Regions from separate parts of the Homo sapiens genome. Here all the other regions are linked to region 1. Evidence: promoter capture Hi-C in 16 types of primary human blood cells and fetal thymus (Javierre and others, 2016). All regions are on one chromosome and are shown on one strand. The core of a region is centred on a gene start or on the middle of the fragment in contact, and the rest is flanking DNA. Distances in the headings are between cores, read along the strand shown. Region 1 holds the start of SLC35G5 (solute carrier family 35 member G5). Region 2 overlaps GATA4 (GATA binding protein 4). Region 3 overlaps GATA4 (GATA binding protein 4). Region 4 has its middle 31 kb from the start of LINC00208.

Region 1 (3,023 bases), core at 335-2,834:
AAACAAACAAACTCTATCGAACCCTTCTAGTGAATTTCTCATCTCAGTTGTCGCACGTTTCAGCTACAAAATTTCTACCTGGTTCCTTTCTATAATTTTTATATTTTTATTGATATTCTCATTTTGTTCAAACATCATTTCTCTGATTTCATTTAGTTGTCTTTTAACTCTTGTGCATATTTAAGACAATTGTTTAGTCTTTGTCTAGTAAGTCCAAAGTCTGGGATTCCTTAAGGATAGTTCAATTAATTTTATTCCTGTAAATAAGCCAGATTTCTCATTTGTTTGCATGCTTTGTGATATTTTTATTATAACTGAACATCTCAATATTATAATGTGCTATGGAAGTTAGACTTTCACTCTTTCCTAGGATTTATTATAATTATTTTTTTTCTTTTATTTTTTTTTTGTCTTCAGTCTTTGTCTTTATTTATCCCTGTCCCTCCCAACCCCCGGGCTCCCAAGTTCTATCTCACTCCTCCACCTTCCCTGTCCTCTCACAGCTGAGGTTCCGGGCTGTAATGATGGCAATGCTGCCCAGCACAACCCCTGCCCCCATGATGTCAGAAAGTGCCACAGTCTCATGGAGCATATAATACTGCAGTATAAGGGCCACAACCACCTCGGAATGCAGGACAGCGCACACCAGGGCAGGGTGGGCCTTGGTGACCGCATAGCCCACACATGTGAAGGAGACCAAGGCGAGGATCCCCTCTGCCCCCACACAACTCCAACTCAGGAGGTCACTGGGCAACACGGGGGTCTGCAGCACAAAGAGGCCTGGCACACAGCCCAGCAGCCCCACCAAGCCAGATAGGAAGGCCACTGTTGGGAGGCAGGAGGGAAAGTGCAGAGAACGATAGACCAGAAGCCCCAGGGACAGCGCCAGGCCTCCCAGGAAAGCCTGCACATAGCCCAGGGTGGTGTAGACACCTGTGGTCCCCTCCTGTAGTGTCCAGAGTCCAGGTCCCAGAATGATGATTAGTCCTAGGATGCTGCCCAACAGTCCACACCACTCGTAGCCACCGAGACCCTGGCTCTCAAGGCAGAGGGTGAGGACAGCGGAGCATACGGTGGAAGAACCTTTGCGAACAGTGGCAGCGTTGCCAGCGGGCACCACCTGAACTGCACTGTAGGCACATCCAATGCTGAGGACGTTGAGCAGGGCACAGAAGCAGGCCCAGCCTCGGATGTCAGGAGGTCCCAGAAGGGGGTCGCCACGCAGTTTAAGTAGCAGGGCAATAGGGAGGTGGAAGAGGCATCGACAGATGAGCAGCTCCAGCGAGGGCAGGTTGGAACCCTGGTAAGCCATACGAGAAAGGGGGCCCACGAAGCCAGCAGGCAGGCCCCCACCCAGCAGGGCCACCAGCAGGCCATTGGTGGCACCAGAGGGCTGGCAGCGCTGGTGCCAGCGGAGGCTGGGTGGAGCGGAGGGCGGCGATGGGTGTGTGGAGTCAGGCAGGTTGAAGTAGGGGTGACTGCCAGCCATCTTTCCTTGGACTTTCTCCTCTCCTCCTGGCTCAGGGAGCCTGGGCCCCTCAGAGCTCCAGCCATTGTGACCTCATTGGAGTGCGGGTGGGGTTCTTCCCTGGAACTCTCCTGAGGTGGTAGCACGCCTATTTTCCCGCTGAGTCCAACTCTGCTTCTTTTCTTTCTTTCTTTCTTTCTTTTTTTTTTTTTTAATTGATCATTCTTGGGTGTTTCTCGCAGAGGGGGATTTGGCAGGGTCATAGGACAATAGTGGAGGGAAGGTCAGCAGATAAACAAGTGAACAAAGGTCTCTGGTTTTCCTAGGCAGAGGACCCTGCGGCCTTCCGCAGTGTTTGTGTCCCTGGGTACTTGAGATTAGGGAGTGGTGATGACTCTTAACGAGCATGCTGTCTTCAAGTATCTGTTTAACAAAGCACATCTTGCACCGCCCTTAATCCATTTAACCCTGAGTGGACACAGCACATGCCCCAGAGAGCACAGGGCTGGGGTCAAGGTCACAGATCAACAGTATCCCAAGGCAGAAGAACCCCTCCCAGTACAGAACAAAATGAAGTCTCCCATGTCTACTTCTTTCTACACAGACACAGCAACAATCTGATTTCTCTATCTTTTCCCCACCTTTCCCCCTTTTCTATTCCACAAAACCGCCATCGTCATCATGGCCCGTTCTCAATGAGCTGTTGGGTACACCTCCCAGACGGGGTGGTGGCCGGGCAGAGGGGCTCCTCACTTCCCAGAAGGGGCAGCCGGGCAGAGGCGCCCCCCACCTCCCTCCCAGACGGGGCAGCTGGCCGGGTGGGGGCTGACCCCCCACCTCCCTCCCGGACAGGGCGGCTGGCCGGTGGGGGGCTGACCCTCCACCTCCCTCCCGGACGGGGCGGCTGGCCAGGCCGCGGCTGACCCCCCACCTCCCTCCCGGACGGGGCGGCTGGCCGGGCGGGGGCTGATCCCCGACCTCCCTCCCGGACGGGGCTGCTGGCCGGGCGGGGGCTGACCTCCCACCTCCCTCCCGGATGGGGCGGCTGCCAGGCGGAGACGCTCCTCACTTCCCAGACGGGGCGGCTGCCGGGCGGGGTGCTCCTCACTTCCCAGACGGGGCAGCTGCCAGGCGGAGGGGCTCCTCACTTCTCAGACAGGGCGGCCGGGCAGAGACGCTTCTCACCTCCCAGACGGGGTCGCAGCCGGGCAGAGGCGCTCCCCACATCTCAGATGATGGGCAGCTGGGCAGAGACGCTCCTCACTTCCTAGACGGGATGGCGGCCAGGAAGAGGCGCTCCTCACTTCCCAGACTGGGCAGCCGGGCAGAGGGGCTCCTCACATCCCAGACGATGGGTGGCCAGGCGGAGACGCTCCTCCCTTCCCAGACGGGGTGGCGGCCGGGCAGAGGCTGCAATCTCAGCACTTTGGGAGGCCAAGGCAGGCGGCTGGGAGGTGGAGGTTGTAGCGAGCCGAGATCACGCCACTGCACTCCAGCCTGGGCAACATTGAGCACTGAGTGAACCAGACTCCGTCTACAATCCCGGCACCTCAGG
Region 2 (3,023 bases), core at 164-2,663, 420 kb before region 1:
TAACTTGTATTTGAACAATTAAGACTTGCATATGTCCCGTCTAAGGTACCAAGGGGGTACACAGCAAAAAGAGTGTCCTTCCAATCCCTTCTCCCCAGGACCCCAGTTTTTCTCCTGGAGGCACCCCATGTACGTATATATGCATACATGTGACCATGTGACCAATCTCTACATATCCTACCAGAGGTGTTCTGTATATGTGGAAGCAACCACCTATAAATTATATTCTTCCTCATATTTATAAAAATAGTGCCATAGTAGGTAGTGTTGGGCACCTTGCCTTTTTGTTAATATTGTATAATGGAGAATGTTCCAATAAAAATTAAAGAGCTTTGTAGAAGCTCCTTGTAATTCTGGAAATATTAACCCTTTTTCTGATACTGTGTGTATTGGTCTTTACTTTCCCTAGGTATCATTTCCAGGCACAAACAGTAAATATTTACAAAATCAAATATATCTAACTATTCTTATATGGCTAAAAAGTTTTAAAATCTTGTTTAAGAAGTTCTCCCATCCCCAAAGTTATATAAATACTTTCCCTTACATTTTCTTCCAGTGTTTTTATTGTCTGATTTTCTTTGCAGTATTTTATTATCTAATATTTTTATTTTTTTGGAGACAGGGTCTCACTTTGTCACTCAGGCTGGAGTGCAGTGGGACAATCAGAGCTCACTGCAGCCTCAAACTCCTGAGCTCAAGCCATCCTCCTACCTCAGACTCCTGAGTAGCTGGGACTAGAGGCATGCACCACCATGCCCAGCTAGATTTTTTTTTTTTTTTTTTTTTTTTTTAGTAGAGACAAAGTTTCACCATGTTGTCCAGGTTGGTTTTGAAATCCTGAGCTCATGCAATCCTTCTGCCTCAGCCTCCCAAAGTGCTGCAATTACAGGCATGAGTCATGATGCCTGGCCTTACTTTTAGTTTATTTCAAAGATGTTTTACATGTAATATCCTTAATTCACCCAAGTTTATTTTTGTTTAAGGTAGGAGGTAGAGGTCATGCTTTCCTTCTGTTTTCCAAATGAACAGCCAATTTTGTCAATACAACTATCCTTAAGCTTCTTATCCACTGAATCGAAACGTCACCTTTGTTACACATCAAACTGCTACATATAAATGTAGCCTGCTCATCTGTAAAACGGAAAATTCACTTATACAATGTAAAGGACGGAAGAGGCCAGCAAAGTAGTTGAAAGCCCCTTCCAAATCTAAGTCTCTTTGTTAAGAAGGAAAAATGAATGCTAGTACAAAGGAAGAAGACAAGGGAGGACTGAGAGATGGGCATCAGAAGGCAAGGATGCCGCATGGGCGCAGGACCCACGTACCCCGTGGAGCTTCATGTAGAGGCCGCAGGCATTGCACACAGGCTCGCCCTCCGCATTGCGGCGCCACAGCGTGGTGGTGGTGGTCTGGCAGTTGGCACAGGAGAGGCCCACTCGGCGGGAGGCGGACTGCAAGACAGGAAACAAATGCTTCATGTCCAAGTAAAAGGTGTGCACTGCCCTTCCACCTCGCGTGTGGCTGCGGAGCTGGGCCTCCCTAACGGGAGGCAGGGCTGGGCCCTAACGACCCTGCATGAGATCTCTGACCTGTGACGGCACCTAACTCTCCTGTCACCTGCGCCACTGCGAGGAATAAATCAGAACAAGGTTTCTGCTGCCCGAGGAGAGCGAACGTGGGCATCGAGACCTGGTTTCCAGTCCTAACCATCATTCACCGTCAGGCGAATAACCAGTGAGCGCCGGGCACTGCCGGCAGGAAAGCTTCTCCTGAGAGGAGAACTGACCGGGGCTGCAGGTGCCGGGGGCAGGCAGAGAGTGAGGAATCACGGTGTCCAAATGGTATCAAAGTCTGAATGGCCCTGGGACCTCAAGAAAGGGAGGCACCAGGTTTATCCCCTCTGTTCTTCCCTCCTTAATATAGTGCAAGCTGGTTGGTGTTGACCAGAATCAAATTATATTAAAAAGGAGCAGGAAGCCAGGAGCCAAGCCCCAGGCCCAAACTCTTCCCTAGCCACGGGGCCCAACACAAGCTGCTTGCACTTCTGGGCTTTGGGATTTATCAACTGATCAACTGAGGTCAGGGTAGAGACCAGCCTCTGAGGTGACCTTCCTTGCAGGGTTGGTGTGGGTGGAGGAGACACTCCAGTCAACACTGGACTGGGAACCAGGAAACCTGGATTCTGGTTCCAGAGTTCTAGATGGGAGACTCAGTACCTGAGTGGCTGTGGGCAAGGCCACTAGCTTTTCTGAGCCTCACTTTCAGTTTCTGTGTGCCGAAGAGGTTGAACTAGACAGCCTGGATCATTCTGGTGGCTCCAGCTAACTCTAAAGTTGTGAGAATTATTATGGGGCTCTCACCCACGTAATCCCCGATGCACACCCTCAAGTTCCAAAATTCAAAACCAGAGGATGTCCCACCAAGGCGAGAGCTCCGCAGCCAGGTGCCCAGAGGAGGCTGCGAGGCACGTGCTTACCAGCCGGCGCTGAGGCTTGATGAGCGGCCGGTTGATGCCGTTCATCTTGTGGTAGAGGCCGCAGGCGTTGCACAGATAGTGACCCGTCCCATCTCGCCTCCAGAGCGGGGTGGACATAGCCCCACAGTTGACACACTCTCTGCCTTCTGAGAAGTCGTCAAACATATCTACTGAGTTGGGGGGAACAGACAAGAAAAGACACAGAGGATTAATTCTTTGTTTATGCCCAGCTCTCACATCTGAGAATCTAGAGCGCACAGAAACAATGCCCTTTCCTTGGAAAGAGAAGACCACCTCGGGCTGCTCTTGCTCTTCCTCACTCTGACTTCAGCCCCTGCTCCCTAATCCCAGACACTGAGAGTTCCCCTGAGCACGAGAAGAGGAAAAAGTTGCAGTGATCACCCACGTCCTGGGCTGGGAGGCGGGACACCTGGATTTCAGTGCAGGTATCACATTCAGAGCCTCCAGCCCTAGGCCTCTCACCTCACACTGAGGTCCACGCAAACCTTGCTCTCTCTTTTTCCCTTTCAAAGTTAGTAAGATTACT
Region 3 (3,023 bases), core at 264-2,763, 400 kb before region 1:
GGTTCATGCCAGCCTCGTGGCAGGGGGCAAAAAGTAATGACAGAACCACGTAATGGCTCTTAATGCCTCTGTGTGGAAGTTGCATAGTGACTTCGAGTCACATATTCTTGATCAAAGCAAGTCTCATAGCCAAGCCTGTGTCATCGGGGTGGTGGAAATAATCCTCACCAGAAATGGGCTCCCTCAGTACAGGAAAGAACAGAGCAGTGTGCTGAACACACGTGGGATCATACCATGGATACTCCTCTGCAGCTGTTTCTGCAGGGACGCATATCTGTTTAGACATTTTTCCATATCAGCACAGATCTACTTCTCTCTTCGAAGAGGATTTATTAGTTTGGCATTGTTAAGGCACATAACACTTACATTCTACTCCATAATTCTCACAGCTGTTTAGCTGTACATGATATTTGAAAGGATTCAATGCTAATGCCAATCTTTTTATGCCACAGCCTCCCCATTCCTAATACCTTGGCTGCATTTCAGCAAGTAATTTTTCACTGCTACACACAACAGGGCTGCAATGAACATCACTGCTTTAGCTTCCGTGCCAGTGTGTCTCTAGTTTGTTTTGATTTCTGATAAGGCAAGTTCCCCTTTCTTAAGTCTCCTTTTAAAAAATTATCTTGGCTATTCTTGTACAATAACTCTTTCATATAAATTTTATAATCAGCTGGACACGTTGTATTTAAGAAATCTTGCTGGGATGTTTCCTGAGACTGTGTTAAATTTATAGATTTGTTTGAGGGAGTTTGGAATAAAGAATGCTGCCAACTTTTCCAATCCAAGGATCTAGTATCTTTCTCCATTTATTCATGTCTTCTTTTATGCCCTTCAGTAAAGCTTTATAGCTCCCTCCACAGGGAATTTACATTTGTTTAGTGAAGTTGACCAGTATTTTATCTGCAAATAATGAAAACATTGCCGCTTTCTTTCCTATCTCATTCATTTTATTAACAAGGAAATTTACTCCTGGCAACCCTAACCCACATGTGATGGTATTTGGAGGTTGGGCATTTGGGAGGCGAACAGGCAGGAGAGCTGAGAGGTATGGACCAGCTCTCGAAGTCTTTCCCTCCATGTGGTCTGGATTTATATTATATTCGGCAGTTTTCTATAGTTGGGGATATGAGTTATCTCTTAATTTCACTGCAGATAAAAGTTTTACTTGATTTGGGGGGTTCTTTTCATCTGATGTGCTGGTCTTCGGGGAGGAAAGGGAGAAAGCAAACCTTTACTCTGCTAGCCTTCGCAGGAAGTCTCTACCTCCTCTTCAGACCAGACACACATCCTCCTCAAATTCCGTCGGCTCCTCTTCCTCTAGCCTCCAGACTCGGGTTCACCTGACGTGTTCATGAATCTTTATGGCAATCAATCACATCTATCTTGAATTATCTATTTTATCCTTGTTTTGCAATAGCAGTTAGTTTTTTGGTGTTACTTCACGTTTTCTTCCCAACCTCTCTCCTTCTGTTTTGTTTTGTTGCTCTAGCCTCAGAATTCTTTAGCCAAGCAAATCAAACATTTACAAATCAAATATAAAGTAGATGAAACGGAGCTTCTCTGCAATAGGGGCCCCACAGACCCTGCTCTCAGCCTTCCTCCCATCTAAAGCACCTGCACTGAAATCAGTGCCCCTGGAGAATAGTTCGATGACAATACGTCTAGTAGTTCCATCTGCCTTTTTACAAATACATTTCACTTACTTGGCAGACATCTTAGGTAGAGCATGAAGCTGCTACAAAATCTACAGTCTTTTATTACACATGGTTAATAGCTTTAATCCAATCTGATTTGCATTCCAAAGAAATTTTAAAAGTGCATCCACTCCTATATTTTATGAATGTGACTTAAAATTTTAATGCAGATTATAAATATGATAGATTTGCAGATCAAAACTCGGTTGCTTGTAGTACAACATTTAAAAATCACCATTTTCCACCTCCTCACCAAGGATAACCTTCTCCTTAGTGATCAGCCCTGCTGTGATAGCAGGATAACACTGAGGCTTGGGCAAAGAGAAACACTGAAGAGCCAGAAAGGCAATCTTGTAGAACCAATTCTGGATGGCTAGTTCTACCTAATCGTCCATCAATGCTACTTACACCTTTGGCCAAAGAAGCAAATAGAATGAAGTGTTAGGAAAAAGGTTTTCACAATTTACTTTCTACTTACTAAGCTTGTACACTGCCTCTCCATTTTTCTCTTCTTTAAATTGTGATAAAATACATATAAAATTAGCCATCTTAACCATTTTTAAGTGTACAGTTCAGTGATAGTAAATGTGTTCACACTGTTGTGAAACTAATCTCTACAACTGTTTTCATCGTGCAAAACTGAAACTCTGCACCCATTAAACTCTAACTCCCCATCCTCCCGCACCCCGATCCTGGCCCCACCACCTGGCAACCCCTCTTCTGCTTTCTGTCGTCATGAATTTGACGGCTCTGGGGGCCCCACAGAAGTGGGATCATAGAGTGTTTGTCCTTTGGTGACTGGCTTGTTTCACTTAGCGTAATGTCTTCAGGATTCATCTGTTGTAGCAGTGCAAGACTTCCTTTTTAAGGCTGAGTAATACTCCACTGAGCACACAGACCACATTTGTTCATTCATTCATCCACGGATGGACACCTAGGCTACTTCCACCTTTTGGATATTGTGTCTCTCTCTTTTAATCAATAATGCGCTCATTTTTACAAGAAAATAAACATTGGGAATAAATGTAAACTCAAAATACATCAATCAAATGTGGATCACTGTGGTTTTGCTGATCCAGCCAGGAAACTCCTCAAAACCGGGTCTTCATAAGACTCAGTCTTCCAGGAGGAAACTCAGAGGCAGTGGTAGCTGCAATATTATTCTCTTGCTGACCAAGAGTGAACAGATTACAGGTAAGGAAATGAAAAACCAGAAAAGTCAGGACCAAAGGAGAATCCTGCAGCAACAAATGGAGAGGGAAGGAAGACTGCCCGAGAAGCTCGCCCTGACAGAGCCGTCCAGGCACGCGGGCTGCACCTCAGTGG
Region 4 (3,023 bases), core at 145-2,644, 280 kb before region 1:
TCCCGGCACCCCCGGGACCAGGCTCTGTGTCAGGGGAAAGCATGGCTCCCATTATTCTCGCTCAGAAACTCATAAATCATCCTTATTAGAATTTCAGCTCTTCAAATAGACGTGAAACAGCTGGCCAAAGCTGGGTCTCTGGAGTGCTTCTGGGGAGCAGGAGCGGATGCCTCAGGGGATCAGGGGAGCTGGCTTTTAATCCTCAGATGCCAGGACAACTCTCCCAATGTTGGTCCACTTGAGGCAGAAGGACTGAAGGTCCAGTGTCCCCAGGACTCAAATGACCATGGAAGGGGAACTAGGAGAGTGCAAATGTGGCTGTGGCTGCCATGCTCTCTTTATGGTGGCTGCCTTGCCTCTGGATCAGCACTTGGCCACAGCTTGAGCTCAATATTTCATTAAGCAATGTTGTTGCAAACCTCTGCCCTGAAGTCATGTGGTTCTCTCCCTGTTCCTCACCTTCTTCATCTGTAAAAGGAAAGAATTAGACTGGACAGTCACTAGAGCTGCTTCCAGCTCTACTATTCCATGACTTCCACTCTTGCAGAAGTGCAAAACTCCACGTGGATTGGCCACAGTTGAAATTCCAGCTGGTGCTGAGGTTCATTTGGCCATTTTAATTGGAGCAGTAGGGACCAATATTGACCACACCGGAATTTTTATAAACAGTAAAGATAGCACCAGATTTATAAACAATTTAAGCAATCAACCTGATATGTTTTATTATAGAGGCACAGCCAGATTCACGGACAGATAAGAGCCTTTCTCTGACAGTGCGAGGGCACATGCTTAGTGTCTGGGTAGGAGGATGCTGAATTTCTGACGGGAGATGGAGCTAGCCATCATGCTGACACCATTGCAGGGAGGTTGAAAACAATGCTGCCCCCAGCGTGTCTTATCCATGTGCAGGGTGGCTTAGCTGGTTTGGTTATGGATGAATATTTAAGACCCCCAGATTACGGTCTTACAGCTGCAGATTGACCTTACCACAAATTCTGGTTTGCTGGTCCCTAAGTGGGAGCTGTAGGCCCCCTAATTTCCTAAGGGACGATAATAGCACAAATCCACTTCAAACACTTGATCAATAGCGTCTACCAATGGGCCTGGGAATGTGAGATGATAGAAGGGAAAACTACAAAATTAGGAGCCAGAACGCTTGCATGCTCATTCTATCAGTATCCCTCACCAGCTAGGTGACTGGCAAACACAATGATAGACATGCTGTCCTTCTCTGCCCAGCACCTGCCATGAGGTCCTGGATCACTCATCACATCCCAAGCTTGGCCAGCCATTGGTGTAACAGCCACTGTCTCAGGGGGTGGAGTCAATGATTAGCCAACAGGACCATTAGTGCCCTTCCCTGGGATGAATGATATAGGTTCATTCATTGAACCTCATTCATTCAACCTCACTGTTGGCAGTGGGAAGTTCCTACTGGGGTAGCAAAACTGACAATAGGAGTCTAGAGCTGTCATTAATTTCTTTCTCCTCTGTATGGAGAAAGCTTGCCAGCCATAGAAGGCAATAAGGTCAACAGCCAAAGGGAGTGAGAGCCAGGAGATGATGAGACAGAACAAGCTCTGGAAACCTCCTTTGAGTCCCAGTATCACCCAAGGTCCCAAATATTTCACTGTTACTTATCCTGGTCTGAGTTGGGGTGTGTCCCTTGAAACTAAAGGAGATGTGATGCAAAAGCCCACTTTGCTACTAAGGCCTCGTAAAAATATAGGCAGTGATATAGGTGAGTGCTGAGCTCTTCCAGCTCTGGGATTCGATGTTACCTATGAGAAGTGAGAAGTCATTGTTTAGCTCACTTAAAACACTTCCAATGAAACCCAAAAGCCAGGCTTTTTATTCCCTTTAAAATCTTGATATTGAGTTCGATGGGAGGAAGGGTTGGGAGTTCACAGTCGTTGAGTGCTTGCTATGTGTGAGGAGCTGTAGACATGTTTTCTCATTTACTATTCACCATGGCTCTTTGAGGTAGGTGTCAGCTCTCCATTTGGCAGATGAGAAAACTGAGGCTCCGTGAGGTTTTGCAACTTGCCTAAGGCCCTAGAGTTAGTGAGCACCGGAGAGTTTTTGAATCCAGATCTGTCTGATTCCAGCACACTGTCTCCTCTTCCTTATAGGGGATCAGGTTTTTAGCCACAAACGATCCACTCAGCATTGTTATGTTGGTAAGAGGTGGGTCTGCTGAGGAGTGCTCTGGGCTGATTCTTCTAAGTAGCTTATGCTGTTTGACTAATCCTTACAATCATTGTGCAAGATGTTATCCGCACTTCACAAGTGGCAAGAGCAGAGGCTTAAAGAACCAAAATAACGTGCTCCGCTATGAAATGGTTTCAAAGTCCATGCACACTCTGACACCCCTTGGTGTGCTGGCAGGGCCTGAAGATGCCTGGGATTCTTGATCAGCCCAAGATTCCCCCACCCAAGCCATAGCCATGTCCAACCTCTGGAGGTGAGCCCCGAAAGCCTGGCCTGGGGTGGCGTTTGCACCGCTGGAGCTAGGAGACCTGGAAGACAGCTATAGCCCCACCTTTGGCCACTGCTCTTTCATGCCTCATGACGTTGACAATGGTCAGTCATGTAAGCATAACACCTTAAAAATGCCAAGAAAGGCAGTACTTTGGGAAATATGTCCGGAGAGTCGTAGCATTTCTGTCCCTCATGGCCGAAGGGTTAGAACCACCATGACTGCACAAGGTCCTTGAAATCTTAGAGTGTCCTACGAAAGGTGGCTCCAAATGTCACCCCTTGGGATCTGTGGGCTAAAAGCTCAGTCATCCAACGCCTCTTGGCAGAGCTTCCTGTGGAGCTATCCAAGGTCCTGCAACTGCTTTGACCTGTGCTCTGAATCATCAATCGACTCCATTATTCTACCTTTGTCCTTGGCCTGCAGCCTTTCCTGACTTTAGTCCTCATCACACCTGGCCTGTCACATCACACTGTCCTCTTTCACTTACTTTCTAGGACCTGAGATCACTTGATGCAGTCCACGATGACCTTGAGTCTCACTC

Evidence for each region. Contacts are between HindIII fragments. The CHiCAGO score rates a contact against its expected background, and 5 or more counts as called.
Region 2: a contact is called between a fragment that was not itself captured here and the fragment with the promoter of SLC35G5 in region 1, in 2 of 17 cell types (naive B cells and total B cells). The highest score is 10.1, in naive B cells.
Region 3: a contact is called between a fragment that was not itself captured here and the fragment with the promoter of SLC35G5 in region 1, in 4 of 17 cell types (total B cells, fetal thymus, naive B cells and 1 more). The highest score is 7.5, in total B cells.
Region 4: a fragment that was not itself captured here is called in contact with the fragment with the promoter of SLC35G5 in region 1 in 1 of 17 cell types (naive B cells); the score reaches 5.5 in naive B cells.

What each region holds. Positions count from the first base shown.
Region 1 is chr8:11,329,573-11,332,595 of GRCh38, reverse strand. It overlaps SLC35G5 (solute carrier family 35 member G5), which reads right to left and starts at 1,584. Exons shown (of 1, transcript NM_054028.2): 1 at 236-1,584. The coding sequence starts at 1,489. The coding sequence ends at 473. It also overlaps a transcript of MTMR9 not described here. The HindIII fragment of the contact is 5,485 bases long and covers 1-3,023 here.
Region 2 is chr8:11,748,539-11,751,561 of GRCh38, reverse strand. It overlaps GATA4 (GATA binding protein 4), which reads right to left. Exons shown (of 7, transcript NM_001308093.3): 3 at 2,477-2,646; 4 at 1,326-1,451. Among named protein-coding and RNA genes, the nearest start is that of LINC02905, 11 kb to the left of the region's middle. The HindIII fragment of the contact is 705 bases long and covers 1,061-1,765 here.
Region 3 is chr8:11,730,944-11,733,966 of GRCh38, reverse strand. The region is part of intron 2 of GATA4 (GATA binding protein 4); the gene reads right to left. Among named protein-coding and RNA genes, the nearest start is that of SNORA99, 27 kb to the right of the region's middle. The HindIII fragment of the contact is 1,336 bases long and covers 846-2,181 here.
Region 4 is chr8:11,605,738-11,608,760 of GRCh38, reverse strand. No RefSeq gene overlaps it. Among named protein-coding and RNA genes, the nearest start is that of LINC00208, 31 kb to the right of the region's middle. RefSeq lists a silencer at 2,754-2,954. The HindIII fragment of the contact is 225 bases long and covers 1,282-1,506 here.